Linked DNA regions of Homo sapiens: region 2 is linked to region 1. Evidence: promoter capture Hi-C in human tissues and cell types (Jung and others, 2019). All regions are on one chromosome and are shown on one strand. Each heading gives the region's core, a stretch centred on a gene start or on the middle of the fragment in contact. The rest is flanking DNA. Distances are from core to core; before and after follow the strand shown. Region 1 holds the start of RAPSN (receptor associated protein of the synapse). Region 2 overlaps LRP4 (LDL receptor related protein 4).

Region 1 (7,048 bases), core at 1-2,500:
CATAGCGCAGGGCCTTCTCGAAGCTCTCCAGGGCCTTCTGGAAGACGCTGAGGCCCAGGAAGGCATTGCCCATGCTCAGGCTGACCTGGCCTCCGAGCTGGGCACCTGCCCTGGTACCAGGCAGCCCAAGGCAGGTCTTGCAGTAGGAGATGGTCTTGTGAAACTCGCACAGCTTCTCGTTGCTGCGTGCCAGGTTCAGGTAGCTCTCCAGGAGGAAGTCGGCATCCTCCAGCTCCCGGGCCGTGTCGATCTGGACCACAGCGAACTGCACACAGCGACGGTGGGCAGGTGGTGCTCAGCCTGGACTCTGAGCCTTGGACCCCAGCCTGCACTGCAGGCTCAGACCTGGAGGCCCCACACCCACCCCCCAGCCTCACACCCAAAGCAGCAGATCCCAAAGCTTCTTTTCAGACCCAGAGCTTCTACCCGCCAGCCTCAGCTACCTTCCCTACACCCCAGCCTCACCTCCCAAGCTCAGGCTTGCAGCCTTCACCTTCTATCCCAAGCCTCAGATCTGGAGTCTCCACCACCCACCCACCCCCAGCCGCAACCCTGGAGCCCACACCCCGCCAGGCTCAGACACAGAACACCAGACAGGAAGGCTGAAACCTACAATGGGCTTGAGACCCACAAACCCTCGACCCTGAGGCTGGAGAACCTCAGTCTCAGAGACTCGGGCACCACAGTTCAAGGCCACAGGCCTGAATCTGATGCCAAGACTCAGTATCTAAGACCCAGGGCCTTAGATATAAATTCAGAGCCTCGGGCCCTGGCTGCCAGCCTGTGGGACACAGGGGAGCCCGAGGAGGCCGAGAGGGGACTGGGGAGCCTGGGAGACATCCGGCCCCAGCCTGACCCTCGAACGCCCCCAGGCCGGGTACACCCACCTTCAGCATCTCCTTGTAGCGGCCCATCTCCGAGTGGGCTGTGACCAGGCAGCCCAGCACGCGGAAGCGCCCCATGAGGTCCGAGCTCTTCTCCAGCACCTTTGTCCACACCTGCAATGCCTTCTCTGTCTGGTTGGACTGGTACAGCTGGAGCCCCTTCTCGATCTGCTGCTTGGTCTGGTCCTGCCCCATCCTCCCCAAGCCCTGTGTCCCACGTGGGGTGATCCCTGGTGGCTCCGTGCCTCTAGGCACTCATGGGGCAGGAATCACAGTGCCAGCTGCCCCCCGAAACGTGGGAACAAAAGCAGCGTCGGGTGGGAGCCGGAATGGGGCCTGGATGGAGAGCAGGCGCCACCCTGGGAACAAAGCTGGTTCAGCCCGTCTGCAGCTGTCGCTGCCAGTTGGGGCCACATGGCCTCTGAGGAATGTCAGCAGCAAGGTCACGTGGGCCTCTGCTGCACCCACCCGCGAGCTGGGACGTGGCTTCCCTGAGCATACAGGCACCTTGCCACCTGGGCACCCCCTTGGGCGTCCCTTAGGCACCTCTGACACTGACCCTGACCGCCCTGGCAGCACGGGCCCTCCCAGCAGCCTTGCCAAGGGGCCAGCTCCAGCAAGTGGGCAGGCCTTGGGCTAGAGGTGCTCGGGGGAAGGAGAGCGAGGCTGGACCTGCAGGTCCGGGGAAGCCAGGTGAGCGCCCAGCCCTGCTTCTTCCCCATCAAGACACCCCTGACCGCAGCATCCCCTGGCTCTGTTCCTGAAATTCACTGAGCACCGTGGGTCACTCATCCAGGCCCAGGCTGACACCATTCACCAACTCTCACCTTAGAGAGTCTGGGAAAGACCTCCAGCTGGTGAGAGGCCTGAGCTCTAGCCTGGCTTCCTTCGAACTCTCAGTGGGACCCTAGCCAAGTGACCTGGCACCGTGGACTGAAGAGAGGAATGGTACCTGGCTCACTGGACTGCTATGAGAACTCAATGACGAAAGAGTTGAGAAGGACTTAGGACAGTGCCCGGCACAGGAAACCCCGCATGTGCTGCAAGAGGCTATTTTGCTCCATGGCAAATCCCCACCCGGGCCAGAACCCAGCCCTTGAAGTTTCAATGTCTCACTTCCAATCCCAACCCCGGGCTGAAAGGGTCCTCATAATGAGATTTAACACCAGATACTGTGGAGAAGGGCAAGGTCTTATGTAGTATTGGGGCCCCCGCTAGCAGGCCAGCTCATCCAGCCCCCCTTTCTCCTCTCTCTGCATGCCAGCCTTCTTCCTGCCCCAGGGCAAAAGTTTATCCTTTCTGGCTGGGCAATTCAGTGGTTTTTAGTATATTCACAGAGATGCACATTAATTGCCACTAATTCCAGAACATTTTAACCACCCCAAAAAGGAGACGCACACCCATCAGCAGTTACACCACTCCATTCCCCACCTTGATATGACTGAATCATGTCCCCCCGCAACCAAACGCATATGTTTAAGTCCTAACACTCAGTATCTCATAAGGTGACTGTCTTTGGAGACAGGGTCTTTAAAGGGTGATTAAGGTAAAATGAAGTCACATTGTACCTCATCCAGTTAAGACTGGTATCCCCCCCCCCTTTTTTTTGAGACAGGGTCTCACTCTGTCACCTAGGCTGGAGTGCAGTGGTGCAGTCACAGCTCACTGCAACCTCTACCTCCTAGGCTCAAGTGACCCTCCCACCTCAGTCTCCTGGGTAGCTGAGACCACAGCTGTCTAGTTTTTGTAGAGATGGGTTTCACCATGTTGCCCAGGCTGGTCTTGAACTCCTGGAGGTGGAGGTTTCAGTGAGCCGTGATTGTGCCACTGCACTCCAGCCTGAGCACCAGAGCAAGACCTTGTCTCAAAAAATAAATAAACAATAAATTTTTATTTTTAAAAATTATTTTTGAGACGGAGTTTTGCTCTTGTTGCATAGGCTGGAGTGCAGTGGCACAATCTCAGCTCACTGAGACTTCTACCTCCCGGGTTCAAGCAATTCTCCTGCCTCAGCCTCCCAAGTAGCTGGGATGACAGGTGTATGCCACCACGCCTGGCTAAGTTTTTGTATTTAGTAGAGACGGGGTTTCACCATGTTGGTCAGGCTGGTCTTGAACTTCTGACCTCAGTTGATCCACCTGCCTCAGAGCCTCCCGAAGTATTGGGGTTATAGGCGTGAGCCACCATGCCTGACCACAATACTTTTTTTTTTTTTTGAGACACTTTCCCTCTGTCACCCAGGCTGGAGTGTGGTGGTGCCATCTTGGCTCACTGCAACCTTCACCTCCCAGGTTCAAGTGATTCTCCTGCCTCAGCCTCCTGAGTAGCTGGGATTACAGCTGCGCACCACCACACCTGGCTAATTTTTGTATTTTTAGTAGAGACGGGGTTTCACCATGTTGGTCAGGCTGGTCTGGAACTCCTGACTTCATGATCTGCCCACCTCTGCCTCCCAAAGTGTTGGGATTACAGGCGTGAGCCCCCGCACCTGGCCCACAATAAATGTTTAAAAAGGACACAGTCACACAGAAGAAGAGCACGTGAAGACACAGGGAGAAGATGGCTATCTACAAGCCCAGGAGCAAGGCCTTAGAATGAAACCAACTCTGCCAATTCCTTGATCTTGGACTTCTAGCGTCCAGAACTGTGAGAAAATAAATTTCTGTTATTTAAGCCACCTGGTGTCTATGGACCTGTCTATTGTGGACCCTTCACAGGAATGGAATCATACAATATGTGGTCATCTGTGACTGGCTTCTTTAACTTGGCATAATGTTTTCAAGATTCAACTATGTTTTCAACCGTATCAGAACTTCATTACTTATTGTGGTTGGTTAATACTCATTGTCTGGATATACATTTTGTTGATTCAGCAGTTAATAGGCATTTGGGTTGTTTCATTTTTGGCTACTATGAATAATGATGCTATAAAAATTCATGTACAAATTGGGCTGGGCACGGTGGCTCACGCCTGTAATCCCAGCACACTAGGAGGCTGAAGCAGGCAGATCACTTGAGCCCAGGAGTTGGAGACCAGCTTGGGAAACATAGCGAGACCCCATATCTACAAAAAATACAAAAAAAAAAAAAAATTAGCTGGGTGTGGTGGTGCACAGCTGTGGTCCCAGCTACTCGCGAGGCTGAGGCAGGAGAATCGCTTGAGCCTACAAGCTTGGACTGCAGTGAGCCGCAATCATGTCACTACACTCCAGCCTGGGTGACAGAGCGAGACCCTGTTTCAAAAAAATAAAAAATTCATGTACTAGGTTTTATGGGGACATGTTTTCATTTCTCTTAGGTATATGCTTGGAGCAGAAGTGTGAGTAATATGGCAACTGTTACATTCTGGTACCTGCCTACCTGTCTGCCCCAGGGCCTTTGCACCTCCTAATTCCTTCTCTGTTCACCACACCCACACTCTGCCTCGTAAGTCATAATTAGGATGAATCAGCATATTATCCTCTCATTGAATTACACTGCATTCTGATACAGGACTTATCTCTATAATTTTATTTTGAGACAGGGTCTCACTTTGTCGCCCAGGCTGGAGTGCAGTGGTACAATCTAGGCTCACTGAGGCCTCGACCTCCTGGGCTCAAGCCACCCTCCCACCTCAACCCTCGCAAGTAGCTGGCATTACAGGCAATGCCACCATGCCCAGCTAATTTTTATATTTTTAGTAGAGACGGGGTTTCACCATGTTGGCCAGGCTGGTTTTGAACTCCTGTGCTCAAGTGATCCGCTGGCCTGGGCATCCCAAAGTGCTGGGATTACAGGCGTGAGCCACCACGCCCAGCCTCTCTATAATTTTATATTAGTGAGGTTGTTTGCTGAATGTCTTTATTCTTCACTCAAATGAGGTCATATGGCTGGGCCCTAACCCAGGGCAGGACTTTGTCTCCTTCATTACTGACTGTATTCCCAGAGCAAGGCCCGGCACACTGTGGCCCCTCAATAAATGTCAAATATCGGTGAATGGGGAAGAAGCGGAGGAAAGACGGCTTCACCGGGAAATTCAGAGCAACTACACGGCCTGCTTCCTGAGAGCCCAACGGGTCAGAGGGGACGCTCTGGGGGTCAGAAGGCAAATGCCCCAGGCTCAACAGAGGCAGAGTGGGAGCAGGCTCTGGGACAGGTGGCTGGGCAAGGCCACCTGGACTCCCCAAAGGAGTGCTCCTAAGCCTGGGAAAGGGAGGGAGAGCTGGCTGGGGTCTTCTCTCATCTCAGGGAGGCCTGGGTTGATGCTGAGCTGCAGATGGGAGGGAAGCTGGGCCCACAGCGAAGGTGTGAAGGGCCAGCAGATTCTCCCCACTCCAAGGCCCAGACACTATTCACATTGAGTCTCTGGCAGGAAGGAATGGAGGAAGGGCGGCCTGCATCTACACCCCAACAGAGTTGGGGACCACAGCCTTCCTCTTTCCTGGGGAACTCAAATGACCTCAAAACTTGAAAACTTGATGGGATCAAGCTGTCCTTTCCCTGAGACAGGTCTTTGCTCATCTGACTTCAGTGATGGGAATATGCCCATACTCGCTTATTCTAGGTAGCAGAGTACCTTATGTTTCCTTGAAACATTTCATTTCTTCTTTATTATTATTTTTTTTTTTGAGATGGAGTTTTTCACTCTTGTCGCCCAGGCTGGAGTGCCCGTGGTGGTGAGAGGTGAAGCCAGCTGGACTTCCTGGGTGGAGTGGTGACTAGGAGAACTTTTCTGTAGCTAACTAGAGGTTTGTAAAATGCACCAATCAGTGCTCTGTAAAAACACACCAATCGGTGCTCCGTAGCTAGCTGGAGATTTGTAAAATGGACCAATCAGCACCCTGTAAAATGGACCAATCAGTGCTCTGTAAAATGGGCCAATCAGCAGGACATGGGTGGAGACAAATAAAGGAATAAAAGCTGCCTCCCCGACCAGCCCATCCCCACCCCAACAAGCCAGCAGCAGAAACCCGCTTAGGTTCCGTTCCACGCTGTGGGAGCTTTGTTCTTTTGCTCTCCACAATAAATCTTGCTGTTGCTCACTCTTTGGGTCTGCACCACCTTTAATAGCTGTAACACTCACCACAGAGGTTTACGGCTTCATTCTTGAAGTCAGCGGGACCACGAACCCACTAGAAGGAACCAACTGCGGACACAGTGGGATCTCGGCTCACTGCAACCTCTGCCTCCTGGGTTCAAGCAATTCTCCTGCCTCAGCCTCCCAAGAAGCTGGAATTACAGGCGAGCACCACTACACCTGGCTAAGTTTTGCAGTTTTAGTAGAGACGGGGTTCCACCATGTTGGCCAGGCTGGTCTCGAACTTTTGGCCTTAAGTGATCTGCCCGCCTCAGCCTCCCGTGAGCCACCATGCCCGGCCTCAAAAATTTCATTTCTGAGCACGTTTTCCAGAAATCAGCGACTGTAGTTAGGTTAAGGGCATGCTCCTCTATGGCAACGACTGTGGTTTACTTGTCTTTGTACTACTAGTAACTAACGGCACGGCCCCTGGCAAGGTAAGAGGAGACCAACAGAGAATCCTATTTAACATTCTAACATTTTCTGAGTTAAGCATTTCTTCCAGTTTACAAATGAGGAAACAGGCATGGAGAGGTAAGGTGACCTGCCCAAGACTACACTGCCATCTGCTGGTCCTAGACAGCTGGGACCAGAAGCAGTGTGGTTGTAGAGTCTCGTTCTTTTTTTTTTTTTTTTTGAGATGGAATCTAGCTCTGTTGCCGAGGCTGGAGTGCAGTGGCGCAATCCTGGCTCACTGCAACCTCCACCTCCCGGGTTCAAGCGATTCTCATGCCTCAGCCTCCTGAGTAGCTGGAATTATAGGTACGTGCCACCACTCTTGGCTTTTTTTTTTTTTTGTATTTTTAGTAGAGACGGGCTTTCATCATGTTGTCCAGGCTGGTCTCGAACTCCTGACCTCAGGTGATATGCCTGCCTCGGCTTCCCAAAGTGCTGGGATTACAGGTGTGAGCCAACACACCTGGCCAGGACTCCCATTCTTAACCATTATACTGTACTAGAAAGGAGGCGAGGACAAGGGAGATGGAGAAAGTGGAGAACAGAACAATAGTTTTCCGGAATTCATTGCGATCTTTACCTGAAGCACAGCAAAGTCACTGGGAACTTATCCAAAGCTGTAGCCTGGGTGGGCAGAAGGCATGTATTAAGG
Region 2 (7,048 bases), core at 2,236-4,735, 540 kb before region 1:
TTGTTTTCTTGGACATATATGCATGAACCAACCAAAAGAAACACAGGAGAGTTGGAGCCATATATAGTGAAGAAACTACCCAAATGTCAATATCTATCAAGCTTGCAAAAGACCAACTCTCTGAGTCCGACACAGTTGATGCAGAAAATACTCCATCAGCCTTGTCCTTGCCCCCCACCCCCAGGTCCCTCTCCACCACCTCCCACTGCCTCTGGGGAGGTACTTACTACATCCATCCTCATCGCTGTGGTCCCCGCAGTCATTGTCTCCATCACACTGCCACTGGGCAGGGATGCAGGTACACTCTCCAAGAGCACTCACTGCACATGTGAAGTGGCTCCGACCACAAGCACACTCGGGGCTGCTGGCCAGGCCTGGGCGGAGGGAAAAGGAATCAGTGAGGGCTCAGCTCCCACTCAACCCAAGCCCATTCCGAGGGGAAAGTAGAGGAGCCTAGTCCAGGGGCACTGTCACCTGGAGAGTCACAGTGACACTTCAAGGGAGATGCAGGCAGTAAAACCATGCCTCCTCCAGGGCATAAACGACCCAGCAGATACCCTCTGACTTTGGGCTTACAAAGAGTCCAGGTGACCCGCTCTATGACAGGGCTTTTTTGCATGGCACCTCTAAGGGCCCAGAAACAGATGATGCCACCTAGGCTAGGCACAGTGGCTCATACCTATATCACAGCACTTTGAGGGGCTGAGATGGGAGGATTGATTGAGCTCAGAAGTTCAAGACCATCGTGGGCAACATAGTGAGACCTTGTTTCTACAAAAAACTAAAAAATTAGCTGAGGGTAGTGGCATGTGCCTGTAGTCCCAGCTACTTGGGAGGCTGAGGTGGGAGGATTGCTTGAACCTGGGAGGTCAAGGCTGCAGTGAGCTATGATCACACCACTGCACTCCAGCAGGTGCAACAGAGCAAGACCTTGTCTCAAAAAAGAAAAAAAGAAACAACCCCCTCCAAAAAAAAATGATGCCACTCAGAGGTTTGGTGCTTTTGAAGAAGAGGAACAAGGGACAGAAAGGGTGATGTTGAGAGGCCTCCATAGCCTTCTCACTAAAACTAGGTTGAGATATGGACGCTCTGCCTCTGTCTTGGACCAGACCCTGGGATGTTGGCCAGGGAGGGCAAGAACTAATGGTGGAATTAAAATGCTGGAGCCTCTTTAGGATAAGGAATCCACACAGGGGAGCAGGAAGCAGGGTGGGCTGCTCTGAGTCCCCCAGGCCACCTCAGGGCAGAGTAACTGGGACCTGCCAGGGCCTTCCTGTCTGTGGCACAGGCCACAGCCTTGAGGAAGGCTGGCAGATGCAGCCTCTCCCCCGGCTTCAGCAGCACGCAGCTGGGCTTCCCTATTGAGCATCGAGCTATCTGCCTGGCCAAGTCCCATGACCAGCTGCTGTGCCCCCTCCCCAGCGTGCCCAGCAGGATGCCCTGGGATGGCGTGTGAATGGCTCAGTGCCCTGCTCCAGCCTCAGCTGGAACAAAGGGTTCTGCCAGGGTCACTCTCCCCCCTCCCAGCATTCATCCAACCCGCTGGGCTGCTCTGCTCGCAGCTGGGGAAGGAGGGGGCCGCAGCGCATGGCTCATCTCTCCCCCTTCCTTTCTTCTCCTCTTCCTTCCCTCAGCTGGACCCTGCCCTCAGGCTGGGCTGAAACAGAGAAGGAGTCAGCTCGAAATTGTCACCCCTCTTCCTATACTCTGTACCTGGTCCAGCTTTTCTCTCTCAGCTCATCTCCTTGATGTACATCCTTGTCTCACATTATAATTCCTTGGCCTAGCCTAGGGCTTAGGGCCAGGATAAAAAGGTGTGCTGCCATGCCCTCCAAAAGCAGGGAGAGAGCTCTAGAACTTTCCCTCTCCATCTCAACCCCAAGAGTAAGTGCAAGCATAAGGTAAAACTTCCTAGCCTGCAATGCATGGATGGATGGATGGATGGACGGACAGACGGATGGATGGATGGATGGATGGATGGCTTTTGGGTTCTGTGAATCCCTGATGCTACAGGTATAATGTACGTTTCTGGGGTAAGGGATCACAGCTTTCACCAGATTCTCAACTGAGGCCTGGCCCTCTCCCTCCACATGCTATGGTAATCAGCTGCTCTAGAAAAGATGCAGGATTGGGCTGGGCACGGTGGCTCATGCCTGTAATATCAGCACTTTGAGAGACTGAGGCAGGTGGATCCTTTGAGCACAGCAGTTTTGAGACCAGCCCGGGGAACATGGCAAAACCCTGTCTCTACAGAAAAGAAATTTACAAAAGTTAGCCAGGCATGGTGGTGGACACCTGTACTCTCAGCTACTTGGGAGCATGATGTGGGAGAATCACTTGAGCCCGGGAGGTTGAGGCTGCAGTGAGCCATGATCTCACCACTGCACTCCAGCCATGGTGACAGGATGAGACCTTGTCTCAAAAAAAAAAAAAAAAAAAAAAAAAAAGATGCAGGATTTCCTGCGGAAGCCAAGTGAGGTCCAGTTGGGAGGTGCAGTGTCTCTAGACCTCACAGGAAGGCCTTGCTCCAAGCCCAGTGCTCCTGTCTCTTCGGGTCTCTCTACAAATGCAGGGTAGAGGATTCTTCCCCAGGAAGCACTAAAAGACCCAGGTGCCCCTGCCCCCACTCCATCCTTTCTGGCCTGAGAACTCTGAGAAGGGAGGAGGGTTTTTCTCACTCAGATCCTGGACAACACAGCCTGAGGAACTTCAGTAGTATGACAGGCTCAGCACAGCTGTAGGCACCCTTTTGGTGAACTCTAGCTGGATTGAACAGCAAAGATGTTTAATTCCACTCCATGTGATGGGACTCCCCGGTACACAGATCCCCTTCATGGGGTATCATGGTGAAGAAAAAGGATAAGGCTAATAAGGATCTCAACTGGGGATATTTTGTCCCCCGGAGGACATTTAGCAATGTTTGGAGACATTTTTGGTTGTCCTGCTTGGCGGTGCTTACCGACATCTGGTGGGTAGAAGCTAGGGATGCTGCTAAAGACTCTATAACGTGTATAATTCTATACAGGATTACACGCCTGTAATCCCAGCACTTTGGGAGGCCCAGGTGGGCGGATCACCTGAGGTCAGGAGTTCAAGACCAGCATGGCCAATGTGGTGAAACCCCCGTCTCTACTAAAAATACAAAAATGAGCCGGGTATGGTGGTGGGCACCTGTAATCCCAGCTACTTGGGAGGCTGAGGCAGGAGAATTGCTTGAACCCAGGAGGCAGAGGTTGCGGTGAGGGGAGATCATGCCATTGCACTCCAACCTGGGCAACAGGAGCGAAACTCCGTCTCAAAAAAAAAAAAAAAAATCTATAACATGCAGACAGGCCCCTATGACAAAGAATTATCTGGCCCAAAACATCAACAGAGGTTGAGAAATGCTGCTAACCACACACAGTAGGGAGTGGGGATGTACCAGACGGGAGTTCAGGATGAAAGCTGTGGAAAGGACAGAGAGGAAGTAGGGGGGAATAGGAGGAGGAGGTTAGGCAGAGGACAAAGCACTGGACCTGGAGCAGACAGACTTGGGTTCCATCGACCAGCCAGTTGACCTTGTGCAAGTCACGTAGCCCCTTAAGCTTCAGTTTTCTTGTTTGTAAAAAAGCCACAAGGGGCTGAACATGGTGGCTCATGCCTATAATCCTAGCACTTTGGGAGGCTGAGGCGGGCAGATCACTTGAGGTCAGGAGTTTGAGACCAGCCTGGCCAACATGGTGAAAACCTGTCTCTACTAAAAATACAAAAATTAGCTGGGCGTGGTGGCGCACGCCTGTAGTCCCAGCTACTTGGGAGGCTGAAGCAAAAGAATTGCTTGAACCATGGAGGCAGAGGTTGCAATGAGCAGAGATCACGCCACTGCACTGCAGCCTGGGCAACACAGCGAGACTCTGTCTCGAAAAAAAAAAAAAGCAACAAAGATTAGACAAGAAAATAAAGGTGGAAAAAACTAATCTTATGCCTTGGCACACCAAAGATGTTCAATAATGGAGGCTGGGGTGTGCAGATGCAGGGCTGTGCAGATGCAGGGCTGTGGAGGCTAAATTTTTCCAAAAGGCCTTGATATTAAGAATCAGAGTACCAGAATAGAGCAAGTAGAGCAGTGTCCTGGGGCTGCGTGCAAATGAAAAGTCATACTGGTAGGGAAGAACCTTAAGCTCCGTTTGTTTTTTTAGGGCCCCACCCCCGCCTTTGGCTGAGTGATAACAGAAGTCCCGATTTCCCCCGCGCAGACTGTAGGAACAAAGCATTCCATCGGTGGGCATCAAGTTAGTTGCAGGCAGTTGAAGGGCCTCGACTTCCTGCATGTCAAATCAACATCTCAGCGTCCGCTGCAGTGAAGGGCGGGCAGCCACCGGTCAGGCAAACGCTTGACTTGGGCATTCATACAGTAAACAGACACATTATACTCCAAAAAGCCAGCTCTTCTGGGCAACTGCTGTCCCTCTGGGGTCCTCAGAGGTGGAATTCTGCCTTTTCACTCAAGTCCTGGCTGTGATCATAAAGGCAGCTTTTAACCCTTTTTAAGGAAAAGAATGGTGAGTGAAGAAAGAAAACAAATGACTGTGGGTGGCAAAATGCAGCCTTCATTTTAAGAAGTGTTGAATTAGAACACTTCACTATGCTCTGGCCTTGAAAGCTGCCAGCCACATCGCAAGCTCCCTTAGCCTCCAGGGGCCTGGGCTCTAGCCCCTCCACCTAATGCAATTCACTATGGAAAAGGTCTGTCCGCAAGGTATCTTTGATCATGAAGCCATCCAGCTTTTGGGATATATGTTAATGTGCTCATAGGATGTTTCTCTAGAGGTTAACTAAAATCTTACCTTTTACATCTCATCTCTCCCACTCCCGCCATCTTACCACTTTCTCACGGCTTTCATATAAAGCAAGCTTGTCCAACCTGAGACTTGCATGGCCCAGGATGGCTTTGAATGTGGCCCAACACAAATTCGTAAACTTCCTTAAAACATGAGATTACTTGCGATTTCTTTTTTCTTAGCTCATCAGCTGTTGTTAATGTTCATGTATTTTATGTGTGGCCCAAGACAATCCTTCTTCCAGTGTAGCCCAGGGAAGCCAAAAGTCTGGACAGCCCTGATATAAAGGAAAGAAGGGAAACATCCATCTGGTATACAAGACACACTAACTTAGTAGTAGACAACATAGATTCTAAAGTCAGAGAGATGAAGGTTCAAATCTTGGTTCTACCACAAATTCCGCAATTTTGAGCAAGTTAGTTAATCCCTCCAGGCCTCAGTTTCCTCATCCATAAAATGGGAATATTAACAGTTCTAACTCAAAGGGCTTTGTAAAGATTAACCCATATAAACTGCTTAGCACAGGGCTAACACACAGCAAAAGCTTCATAATAATATAACCATCTTTTTTTTTTCCGAGATGGAATCTTGCTGTGTTGCCCAGGCTGGAGTGCAGTGGCGCGATCTCAGCTTACGGCAACCTCCGCCTCCCGAGAAGCAATTCTCCTGCCTCAGCCTCCTGAGTAGCTGGGATTACAGGCACCCATCACTGCACCTGGCCAATTTTTGTATTTTTAGTAGAGACGGGGATTCACCATGTTGGCCAGGGTGGTCTTAAATTCCTGACCTCATGATCCGCCCACCTCGGCCTCCCAAAGTGCTGGGATTACAGGCGTGAGCCACTGCGCCTGGCCCCATCATTTATTAAATACTTACCAGGTGCCCTCCGAGTACTTTTCTAAGTGCTTTTCATATGCTACATCACTGAAGGCTCTCAACAACCCTAGGAGGTGGTACTGTTATTATTAGTTTGATGCAAAAGCAATTGCGGTTTTTGCCATTACTTTTAATGACAAAAATTGCAATTACTTTTGCGCCAACCTAATATTATCACCACTTTACAGCTGGGGACAATGAACCACAGAAAGGTTAAGTCTGTAGATAGATTGCACAAGTACTAAGGGTTGAGGCCAGCATTCACACCCAGGCAGGTGATTATACTGCTTCCCAATAAATGGTATTACTGTTGTGAGAATCTCCAAAACCCCAAGGTCAAAAGGGGGAATTTACAACTTCTGGGTCCCTCTCTTTTATGTGTTCTCCAATAGCAAATATGCAGTGAGTTTATGGGTCTCAAACAGTGACCTCTTTCTGGTTACTGCTAAGGTAAAGAAAGATTCATTTCCCTCGCCGGAAGGTAAAGTAATGAAGTGGGGAAAGTCTGGCGTCCCAGCACTTTTGAATCAGCACTCGAGTGTTGTTGGTCCAGGGAACAGGGCTTCCCATAACAAATAATTATACTTTGCAATTTCTCTTTAGTTTGTGAGCTACTTTTGCATATGCACTTGCATTCTCATTGAATCATTACAATAATCCTGAGCAATGACTGCAGGGCCCATCCAACAGGTAAGGGCACCCGCTTTGGCCAAGGTCACAAGGTAAGTAGGAGAGCCAGGATGGCAGCCCCATTCTGACACTTAAACTAGTATTCTTCTCTTAGTGTGATCTCAGAGTCTGGACTTTCAGTAAGCTTTCCGGGTGACACCGATGCACACTCAAGTGTCTAGCGGCACTGCTCTCCACCATTCCATAGAATGCACAGCTGAAGGTGGACCACATCTGTCACATGGAGGCACATGGGTAGACCGTGACTACTCACAGCTACAGACCAGCTTTTTCAAGCTGAACCAGAGATGAGAAGGCTTAAGGAGTACCCTGTGAGTGTTCTGGAGTCTGGTGGCTACCCCAGTGTGGAAGCTATTAGGATTACAATGAGAAAAGGAGGAATCGGCCGGGCGCGGTGGCTCACGCCTGTAATCCCAGCACTTTGGGAGGCCGAGGCGGGTGGATCATGAGGTCAGGAGATCGAGACCATCCTGGCTAACAAGGTGAAACCCCGTCTCTACTAAAAATACAAAAAGTAGCCGGGCGCGGTAGCGGGCGCCTGTAGTCCCAGCTACTCGGGAGGCTGAGGCAGGAGAATGGCGTGAACCCGGGAAGCGGAGCTTGCAGTGAGCCGAGATTGCGCCACTGCAGTCCGCAGTCCGGCCTGGGCGACAGAGCGAGAC

Evidence for each region. Contacts are between HindIII fragments. The study calls those that stand out against the background at their distance.
Region 2: a contact is called between a fragment that was not itself captured here and the fragment with the promoter of RAPSN in region 1, in 1 of the 25 tissues and cell types used here (lymphoblastoid cells).

The regions. Positions count from the first base shown.
Region 1 is chr11:47,447,886-47,454,933 of GRCh38, forward strand. It overlaps RAPSN (receptor associated protein of the synapse), which reads right to left and starts at 1,251. Exons shown (of 8, transcript NM_005055.5): 1 at 888-1,251; 2 at 1-265. The coding sequence starts at 1,079. The HindIII fragment of the contact is 7,804 bases long and covers 1-5,732 here.
Region 2 is chr11:46,902,556-46,909,603 of GRCh38, forward strand. It overlaps LRP4 (LDL receptor related protein 4), which reads right to left. Exons shown (of 38, transcript NM_002334.4): 2 at 228-374. Among named protein-coding and RNA genes, the nearest start is that of LRP4, 12 kb to the right of the region's middle. RefSeq lists enhancers at 3,374-4,208, 4,209-5,041. The HindIII fragment of the contact is 3,286 bases long and covers 1,843-5,128 here.